2 separate regions of the Homo sapiens genome follow, and region 1 is linked to region 2. Evidence: promoter capture Hi-C in human tissues and cell types (Jung and others, 2019). All regions are on one chromosome and are shown on one strand. Each heading gives the region's core, a stretch centred on a gene start or on the middle of the fragment in contact. The rest is flanking DNA. Distances are from core to core; before and after follow the strand shown.

Region 1 (5,143 bases), core at 2,367-4,866, 77 kb before region 2:
GGAAAATCGGGGAGAGGTGGGTATGTGAAGAGATGGGTCAGTGAGTACAAAATTACAGTTAGATGGAAAGAATAAGTTCTGGTGTTTTATTCCATAGTATGGTGACTATAGTTAACAATATTTTATTGTATATCTGAAAATAACTAGAAAAGAGGACTTTGAATGTTCTCACCACAAAGAAATGATCAATGTTTGAGGTGATGGATATGCTAATTACCCTGATTAGCTCATTACACAGTGTATATGTGTATCAAAATATCACACTGTATCCCATAAATATGTGCAATTATATGTTGATTACATATAAGAATAAAACCTTTTATAATAAAATATTTTAACATTTAAAAATAATTAAAACAGCAAAGTAGTCTCCTGTATTTTGTTCTGCCTTCAGGAAGGCATACAACTCAAGTTCAAGACTGTGTCTTCAGAACACTTATTTCATTTCCTTTTTTTTTTTTTTTTTTTTTTTTTTTTTTTTGAGATGAATCTCACTGTTGCCCAGGCTAGAGTGCAGGGGCACAATGTCATCTTACTGCAAACTCTGCCTCTCAGGTTCAAGCAATTCTGTGCCTCAGCTTCCCGAGTAGCTGGATTACAGGCATCTGCCACCATGCCTAGCTAATCTTTGTATTTTTTAGTAGAGACAGGTTTACACCATGTTGGCCAGGCTGGTCTCGAACTGCTGACCTCAAGTGATCCACCCACCTCGGCCTCTCAAAGTGCTGGGATTGCAGGCGTGAGTCACCACATGCACCCAGGACACTTATTTTCTTATTCCCTTCCCACTTCTATCCTTTCAACCATCACTTGGATGCAGATAATTCCTGTATCAGTATTTCCAGTCCTGGATTCTCTTCCTACAAGCCATATTATATTTCTGTCTACCTGCTGAGTACCTCTACTTGGATGTCCCATCAATAACCCTAATGTCACAAACCAGATAAAGTGAAAAACATGGGTTCTGAAGGCAGAAAGACCTATATTCAAATCACGACTCTGGCACGTGTTAGCTGTGTGACCTGAACCAAGTTATTTAACCACTCTCAGTTTTAAGCTTCTTGCCTATAAGATGGAATAATGATAATGCTATGTTTGCGTCTCCCCAAAATGCGTATGTTGAAATCCTAACAACCAAGTGGATGGTATCAGGAGATGGGACCTTTGGGAAGTGGAACCTTCAGGAGGGATGCGGACAATAAAAATGCCGTGGTCTGAGTGTTTGTGTTTCCCCAAAATGCAAATGTTAAAATGTTAAGTGCCAAGATGATGATATTAAGAGATGAGACCTTTGGGGGGTGGGGTCTTTGGGATTCACTAAACTGCCCTCATGAATGAGATGAGTGCCCTTCTAAAAAGAGGCCTGAGAAAAACCTCTTACATCTTCCACCATGTGAAGCTACAGTGAAAAGACAGCCGTCTATGAATCCAGAAGCAGGCTCTCATCAGACACTGAATTGGCCAGCACCTTGATTTTGGACTTCCCAGCCTCCAGAACCATGATAAATAAATTCCTATTCTTTATAAGCCATTCTGCTTATGGTATTTTGTTACAGCAGCCTGAATGGACTAAGACAGATAATATCTGTAGCGATAATATCTGTAAAAAAAAAAAATCTGTTCCTCAGGTTGAGTAGTTGGCATATATATGGGTATTCATCATAGTATTTCCTATATTTTTATACATGCCTTAGGTAGGTCAAAATGAAAATAGAATTAATAGCAAAAATGAGGGATCATTATACTTCCTTGTTAAGGGTGGACGTGTCAATTTACTGAAATTGAGCATAAGACATTTTACATGACAAATATTTATTGAGTGTTCATCTAATGCCAAGCACTGCGGACAAAAGTATGATCAAAACAATCACAGTCCCTGCCCTCAAGGTGTTTCAGTGTAATAATATCAGCCTTATTATTATCTCTTGCCTACTACCAACTCCTCCTCTCGATTTCATTATTTCTTTCATTGATCTCAATTACTCAAGCTCAAAGCCTTGGAGTTGTTTTTGGCTCATCTCTCCTACTGGCCTCCATATCAGGGCAGATGCATTTTCCTCTTCTACAGCATTTCTCCATCCCATCCTTCTCTTCCTTTTTCACTGTCATGACTCTAGTTCAGATCCTCTAGTTCAGCTCTAGTTCAGACTCTAGGTCATAACATATTGCTTCTTCCTGGCTGGAATATTAGCCTCTGCTGCCAGATTAATCTTCATGAAAACCACCCTAACCATATCACTCTCCAGCTTAAAAACCTTCAAGTGGTTTATAATTGCCTTGTGAATTATTTCCTTACTCTGTCCTTTAAGGCTCAGACTGCTGTCTTTTACAAACTCAGCCAAGTAAGTCACTGGCATTTAGTAGGTGCTCAATACTGTTTTTTTTGTTTTTTTGTTTTTTTGAGATGGAGTCTCGCTCTGTCGCCCAGGCTGGAGTGCAGTGGTGCGATCTCAGCTCACTGCAAGCTCCACCTCCTGGGTTCACACCATTCTCCTGCCTCAGCCTTCCCAGTAGCCGGACTACAGGCGCCCGCCACCACGCCCGGCTAATTTTTTTTTTTTTTTTTTTTTGTATTTTTAGTAGAGACAGGGTTTCACCGTGTTAGCCAGGATGGTCTCGATCTCCTGACCTCATGATCCTCCCCCCTCAGCCTCCCAAAGTGCTGGGATTACAGGTGCGAGCCTCTGCACGCAGCCTAGATACATACTTTTAAATGTATCAATTAGTCAACCAATCCCTTTCTATATCCTGCACTTGCAAATTATTTCTATGTCTTCGCTCATGCTGTTCCACGTCTATCAAATTCTTTGAGGTTCATGTCAAAATTCATTTGAACATTCCCACCAGATGCAGTTCTTCCAAAGTAACTCTTGTCTGTTCATTTCAATGAGCAGAGATGATCATAAGCAGTTTATTTTCATCTGTCACAACTTTTCCACGAGGACCTTGATCAGTACATTATGCTAAGGCTACTACACGGTCCACTACATTGATAATAACATGCTGATTGGACCTGTTGAACTGAAAGTGGTAGATGTCTAACTAAGGCACATGCATATCAGAGGGTGGGAGATGCACTCTGGGAAAGTTCAGGGTCCTGACATCTCAGTGAATTTCTAGAGATCTGCAGTAGTCTGGAGCATGTTAAAATAGCCTCTCCAAAGTGAAAGGCAAGTTGCTTCACTTTGCACCCCTACTAATATATGATGTAACCTATTCCTGAGCTATCCAGAAAGGCTACCAGCTCTGCACAGGGCCCAGAGCACAAAAAGGCTCTCCAGCTGGTTTGGGTTGTAGTGGATACGGATCTACCACAGTGGCCTTTTGACCTCAGCAGATCCAGATATACTCAAGGTGACTGCAGCAGATAGAGGTTGGTATGGAGCCTCTTGCAAGCTCTAATTGAAGACTCATGGTTGGTTACTGCATGGCCCACCACAGCCATACAGCGCCCTTGTGTTAACTTTTAAGGTACTTCAAAATATGGTAAAATATACATAAAATTTACCATTTTAACCATTTTAAGTGTATTGTTCAGTGGTGTTAACCGTATTTACATTGTTGTGCAATCATCACCACTATCCATCTCCAGAACGCTTTTCATCTTGCGAAGCTGAAACTCTGTACCCACACAACGATAACTCCTGATTTTTCCCTACCCTTGGCCCCTGGCAATCATCCTTCTACTTTCTATTACTATGAATATGACAACTCTAGGTACCTCACATAAATACCGTATGATCATATAGTATTTGTCCTTTTGTGAATGGCTTATTTCACTTGGCACAATTTTCTTAAGATGCATCCATGTTGTAGCATATGTCAGAATTGTTTGCCTCTTGAAGGCTGAATAATATTCCATTGTGTGGATAGAGCACATTTTGTTTATCCATTCATTCTCCAGTGGACAGTTGGGTTGCTTGTACATTTTGGCTATTGTGAATAATCCTGCTATGAACATGGGTGTGCAGAAATCTCACTGACACCTGCTTTCAATTCTTTTGAATATACACCCCGACATGGAATTGCTGGGTCATATGGTAATTCCATTTTTAGTTTTTTGAGGAAATCTTACACTGTTTTTCATGGTGGTTGCAGCATTTTACCTTCCCACTAACAGTGCAGAAGTGTTCCAATTTCTCTGCTTCATCACAAATACATGTTATTTTCTGGAGGATTTTTGGTTTTAGTTTTTTTTTTTTTTATAGCAGCCATCTTAATGGGTATGAGGTGGTCTGTTGTGCTCATGTTAAAAAGATGCAGAGGATGCCTGCATCCTCTGCATAGCCCAGAAGCACTCAAACATCAGAAGGAAGTGGGACATAAGAGATCTCCCTGGAAAGTCGAGGCTGCAGTGAGCCATGATCACACCACTGCACTTCAGCCTGGGTGACAGAGGTGACCCTGTCTCAAAAACAATAAAGAGAGAGAGAGAGAGAGCTCCCACTGAAGCATACGCTAAAGGTCCAACTGAGTTTCACGAGAAGGTGGTTCAGATTCCCATGTCTTCTTCCAGTGTCGATCAATGCCACCTCTCCCTCAATTCATACTTACAGTGTTATAGGGCATTTAATGCACGTAGTTCACAAAAGAAGAAAAAGTTCCAGCCTGGTTTATATACGTTTCTGCACCATAAACTCAAAGCGGCCGGAAGTGGAATGCTGCAGCACTACAGCTCTGCTCAGGAGTGGCCACCAAGGATGGAGAGGACGGAACTTCTCCAGGTGGGCAGAACTGTGCAGTTTTTCTTGAAACTTCAATGCCTTGAAGGATAGATGGCCACATATACAGACTGATGCCAATTAAAGGTGGGTGAGCAGCATTTGTTCAATGCCCGGGACTTGGAAGGAACAAAATTTGAGATTGGCAATGAGAAACAAGGAAAATATTTAGGGATGGATCTTTCAAAAGAGCCCAGAGTATGAAAATACTTGTGTCCCATGTAAATACTCACCATAGGGCATTGCTTCAGTGATGTAGTGACATTCTCAATAACTATACAGACGGGATGATCCATTTTATGGCGCCTCTTATTATTAAGCTTTCTTCTTCTTCTTCTTGCCCTCTCATTAATTTTGTAAGCACCTAATCTCTTGCATTAAATTCTGTCGGTTTAAAATACTGTTATGGATGGAACGTTTGT
Region 2 (5,578 bases), core at 2,665-5,164:
GTTAAAGAAAAGAGAGGATTTAGATTATCTGAGCTCCCTCCTAAATCCCTGGTTTTCAGTCCTTAGAGCAACAGGCTAACTGATGTTTAGATTAAGAAAACTGACTTTTTCCAGCAGATAAGAGGCCCAGCAGGAATCCTGGCAGAAGGAATTAGAGACTAGCACGGGGCGGGTGGAGCTCAGGGCCATTCCTGATGAATGGCCAATGTAAAGAAACCCCAGAAAGACACCAAGTGACAGGAGGCAGGGAAATTTGTAGGAAGAGCAATGTAGAATGAAAATCATTGCAAAACGGTGATTTGGTCTTAGTTGAAAGACAAGTAGAAGAAGATGAATTTGAAAGACGACTTGTCATTTATATGGACTTGTTGTATTTTTTTTCCAACCATTTTTTCAATATTTTGTTGCTTGCCTTAAGGGATGGGCAGATATGGACTCTGTCCAGTGGAAAGTCACCTCTAGGTTTTTACACATTTTTGAAAGGCGAGTGGAGAACAGCGGTGGCCTGAAAGCTCTTAAAACTAGTGCTCTGGGTCGGGGCGGTGGCTCACGCCTTTAATCCCAGCACTTTGGGAGGTCGAGGTGGGCGGGATCACCTGACGTCAGGAGTTTGAGACCAGCCTGGGCAACGTGGTAAAACCCCGTCTCTACTGAAAATACAAAAAAATTAGCCAGGCGTGGTGGTGAGCGCCTGTAATCTCAGCTACTCCGGAGGCTGAGGCAGGAGAATCGCTTGAATCCGGGAGGCAGAGGTTGCTGTGATCTGAGATCGTGCCCTTGCACTCCAGCCTGGTGACAGAGGGAAACTCCGTCTCAAAAAACAAACAAATAGCTAGTGCTCTGACTCTGGTCCAACTCTTTTTCCCTTTTGAGTTGATTCAGTGACAGCACAAGCATTAGTATCCAGTATCCAACCATCTGAAAAAAATTGGAGGATTTTAGCTTGTCTTCGCTAAAATAGTTTGGGGAATAATAGAGTCACAAATTAGAACTAGTAAGAATCCATTCCTTCAGTCTTGCTAGTTGAAGTAAATCCCTTATTTGTGGACATGAGATTTACTTTAGGTTGTATTTGGCAAGTGTGGGAGTACAGGGTGTGGAATTTATTCAGCTACAAAAGTCCCTTAAAATTCCCCGCAATTTCATAAACCCTTAAGAGTTCAGACATGCAAGAATGTTTGTGAAATCTTTGGAAGATGACAACCTAGGCTACTCTCTCTGCTGAAAATGACTAAGTTGGATTTTCTGCTTCATTCCTAAGGAGGAAACTTGACGGCTGAAAGTGAAAAGTGATGGCAATAAACCAGGGAGCGTGAAATAGAAGGTGGGTGCAAATTTTACTCAACTGGGAAAAAGATGCTAATTCAACCCCGGGCAGCAAGAGAAAATGCAAATGAAGATGAAGTCAAAAGAGCTTAACCTGTTTCAAATATTTCATTTCTAAAAATTCGATTCTATTTTCTCTTGTCTCATAGTCTGTCTTAAGAGACTCATACTAAATCCGTGGGCATCCTATTCTTTCCTCATCTAAACACATTTTTAAAGGTGAGAAATAACCAAAGTTATGAGGCAGGATTCAGGGTTAATCAATAATTTCAAACACGAAATGGAATATGTTAAGTCAAGAACTAGTGTGTAAAGATATTCAGCAATCTTGTTAGAAAGTTGTTTGAAAGAATTTGCTCTTTTTTTGCTTAGAGATGAAGTTGTTGTTCTTATTCACACACATGAACACAGCACGTTCTTGCTTCAGGAAGTGCGCCGGCGGGCAGATTGGATAAATTCAAAGATCGGTATTCTGACAAAATTGGCAGTTTCCAAATTCCAGATAAATTTGTTTATCCCAAATCATTGTGTTGTAACTTAATCACAAATTAAACAGATTTAAACACAGAGCCTTTAAGTAAAAATATGTGGGGAAATAATTGCTTAAGTTTAAAAATAGGAATCTCTATTTTTTTATTTTTTCTTTCTTTATTTTAATCAATGTTGACCAGGTTGGCCTCGAACGTGTAGCCTCGCCTCCTCGAGTGCCAGGGCAACCGCCCTGAGCCACCGCGACTCCCAGGAATCTCTATTTTTTTTAAACCAGGTGAAAAATGTTAGACCAGATTACTCACCCTTAAAAATTAGACAAAGTATCTGAGTCATCGCTCCCTTGAACAACGCCTCCTAGCCGTGGGATTGAGGAGGAATCTGGTGTTAAAAGTCCACACGCATCATTTCCCTTAATGTTATTAATGATAATTTGCATAAGGAATCTTTTTTTGACTGTAAAAATAAGTTTACTTTGACAGTCTCTATTACTTAAGACATTTGGTCTATCAGATAATATCTTCGTAATCATAGTGCTGTTTAAACTTTCAGTTTTTTTGTTCGTTTGCTTTTGTTTTTGAGACGGAATCTCACTCTGTCGCCCAGGCTGGACTGTAGTGGCACTATCTCGGCTCACTGCAACCTCCGCCTCCTGGGCTCAAGCGATTCTCCTGCCTCAACCTCCCGAGTAGCTGGGGTTACAGGCGCCCGCCGCCGCGCCCGGCTAATTTTTGTATTTTTAGTAGAGACGGAGTTTCACCCTGTTGGCCAGACTGGTCTCGAACTCCTGACCTCAGGTGATCGGCGCGCCTCGGCGTCCCAAAGTGCTGGGATTACAGGCGTGAGCCACCACCCCCAGCCTACACTTTCACTTTTTGATGAAATCCATGGATGGCTTCCTGAGATACATTGAGATTTTGTGTGTGTGCTATCTTCTGGAATGAAGCCCCACACCGTTTATTAGATGATCTTGGGGATATATGTCTTGAAGGGAAGAATGATTTAGAATATCACATTAAAATTGTATATGTACTGTGAGGCAGCAATACAAATCTGGCACTTTGCCAAAGTTATTACTAGTAGGTGGGTTAAAGGGACGTTTACTCCAATACTATGCAAAGTAAAGTGGACCTTTCTGTCAAACAAAAATAGTAATAGGCCGGGCATGGTGGCTCAAGCCTGTAATTCTCAGCCTGGTGGCTCAAGCCTGTAGTTGTCAGCACTTTGGGAGGCTGAGGCGGGAGGATAGCTTGAGCCCAGGAGGTCGAGGCTGCAGTGAGCCACGATTGTGTCACTGCCCTCCAGCCTGGGCGACAGAGTGAGACCCTGTCTCTAAAGACAAACCACACACACATATACACACACACACTGACACACACTTATTGTTCAATTCAGTGCGTGTTTTGCTTCGTTTTGGATGAAAATTAACAGGCTTTCACATTGTGACTTAATCTTATCAGAGACTCCTAAAGTAAACAATAGCGCAGTAGGAGAAACCCTGATTGTGTAACTTCTGCTCTTGCTCCCCTGGAAATAATGTCATTTCCTATAAACCCACCCCCAAACAATCGTGACTACGTATTCATACCACTGGAGTCTTCCAAAATAGCAACTGCACATTATTTATCAACGTTTAGTTTGCATTTGACAAAGCACATCCACCTGGGCTTCCATTTATCATTGCTATTATTATATTTTATTATTATTTTCTTATTTCCAAAATCTTTGTAGAATGGAAAGTAAACGGGGGGACCAAAACCCCACTTAGAACTCTGCTTAGAAGATTCGGAAATGCCCTTGAGGTTTGGTCCTCCCAGGAGAGCACGAAGTTTATCCTCGCGCGCAGCCTCTCTTCCCCGGCCCGCGCCCACCGGCCTAGCCCGGGGCTAGCGCCCGCCCACGTGTGCTCGGCTCCAGGCAAACCCCGCTGAGCAGCGGCCGCACACCGCCCACCCCGGGGATTGGTCAGCGCGGCCGGGGCCCGGCGGGAGGCGGGCTCGGGGTCGCGTTCCGGGAGCGCGGAGGAGGCGGTGCCGCCCGGCCCCGCGCCCCGCCCCCGCCCCGGGTGGCTACACAGAGGGGCGCCCACGTGCCCAGCCCTCCTTCTGCAGCGCGGCCGGCGGGCGCTCCTCTTCGCGGGACCAGCGAGGCGGCGGCCGCTGCTCCAGCGTCCCCCAGCCGCGGGCCCCCGACGCGCTGCAGCCGGCAGCCCACCGCCGCCTTCTTGGCGCGACCCCAACCCAGCCCCAGTAAGTTGCTAGGTCTCCAGCCCCGCCGAGAGGCCGCGGGCGAGGGGCAGCCCGGACGCTGGGGCCGGCGGGGAAGGAGCGGGGCGAGGGCGCCCTGGGGCCGGCGGGGAACTAGAGGGTCGAGGGCTCCCGGGGACGAGTCCAGCTGCGCGCAGCTGCCCTGAGGCCGCGCTCCAGCGAGTCTTCGTCAGGGAGTCGGGGCCGTGGGCTGGGGCTGAAGCCGTGGACCTTCGTCCTCGGGGCTGCGCCCCGGAATGCGCCTCGCCTCGTCCGGTCCCTGTGCAGCCGGCTCTGCCCGGGGACTTCGGGGACCGCTGGAACTGGGAGAGGGGCTGGCACGGCGACTTCGCGGGGACCCTTCAGTCACTATTTCCAGAGGAGCTCGGCGCACCCCTCTCCGGGTGGGCAGGCTGAACCTCCTGGCCCTGCACGCTGCCGGGGTCCCCGAAGCCGCCTTCGCTCCTTTTCGGTTCTTGGCTTAAATTAGAAAGCCGGCTTGGAGCGCTGGAAGCCCCTTCACATTCTGCAGGGGACCTGGTAAAATAGCCCGTCTTGGTGTTTGTATTGGGTATTTTAAAGTAACTGGGTGCCTTTTAAAATCCGTTTGAGATGGGCTGTATTTTATAAGCCCGTTTCATGAAACGCTGTTCTTGAGGCTTAGAGAATCTCCCAACCCATCACCCCAGAGTACCTGTCCGTTCAGAAAGTACCTTTTCATCCTCTTTTGACGCTTACATCCAGTCTATGGAGTAAGGTATTGAGAGATTGTCATCTTCAACTCGTCGAAAAGAAATATGCTCAGCAAAAGCCACAATCATATGTGGCTTTTGAAGTGGATATAGTGCCTGGATTTCAAGAGAAAAAGTACTCAGCCTCTTCAGAGTTGTAAATATTTGTGCAAAACTGGCTAAAGCCTTTAGGTGACTAATTTTGGACCAGTAATAAGATTTATCTAGACGTTTGTGCAGAAACACTAATCCTTTTAATGAGAGGATATCGTCAGATCTTATTCAAATAAGAGCTCTCTGAATCCCATCCAGGGCCGCCTGGGTTATAAAATTAGAATGTATGTGGCCTTGACTTGATACTTTTTCATTCTTGCCTGAGCTAGTCTTTAAAAGTTAATAATTATCTCCTCCGGAAGGTGAAACATTCTGTGTTTGTAATCTTTCTCTAGGAGATGTATAAGATGTGAATATTCTGTATTATGTACCTTGTTAGGATTGCTTTGTAATTAGTAAATCCTTTTTTATTTTAATTGCACTGAAGCGTGACATGAAATGATCTCTCAGTGCAGAACACAGGACTTCTTCCCTCTCCTTTTCCTACAAAGTTGCTAGTTGCCTGCTCTGGGAGGCCACTTTATTGTGATTTTTCAAGTTTCTTCCCTCGGCCCACACTTTGTTTACATTCTGTGCCTTCATCTGGGAATGGTCATTTACCTTAAGGCATTTTAATCTTTTAGGGTGTGCCATGGCCTTGGAGACCAGAGTAAAGCGCTGTGGTATCTGCGG

The links. The method cuts DNA at HindIII sites, captures the fragments that hold promoters and counts their contacts. A contact is called where the count stands out against the background at its distance.
Region 1: a fragment that was not itself captured here is called in contact with the fragment with the promoter of SLC7A2 in region 2 in 3 of the 25 tissues and cell types used here (dorsolateral prefrontal cortex, mesenchymal stem cells and thymus).

What each region holds. Positions count from the first base shown.
Region 1 is chr8:17,416,328-17,421,470 of GRCh38, forward strand. No RefSeq gene overlaps it. Among named protein-coding and RNA genes, the nearest start is that of MTMR7, 5.5 kb to the left of the region's middle. The HindIII fragment of the contact is 6,995 bases long and covers 120-5,143 here.
Region 2 is chr8:17,493,174-17,498,751 of GRCh38, forward strand. It overlaps SLC7A2 (solute carrier family 7 member 2), which reads left to right and starts at 3,915. Exons shown (of 13, transcript NM_001370338.1): 1 at 3,915-4,064. The HindIII fragment of the contact is 11,749 bases long and covers 1-5,578 here.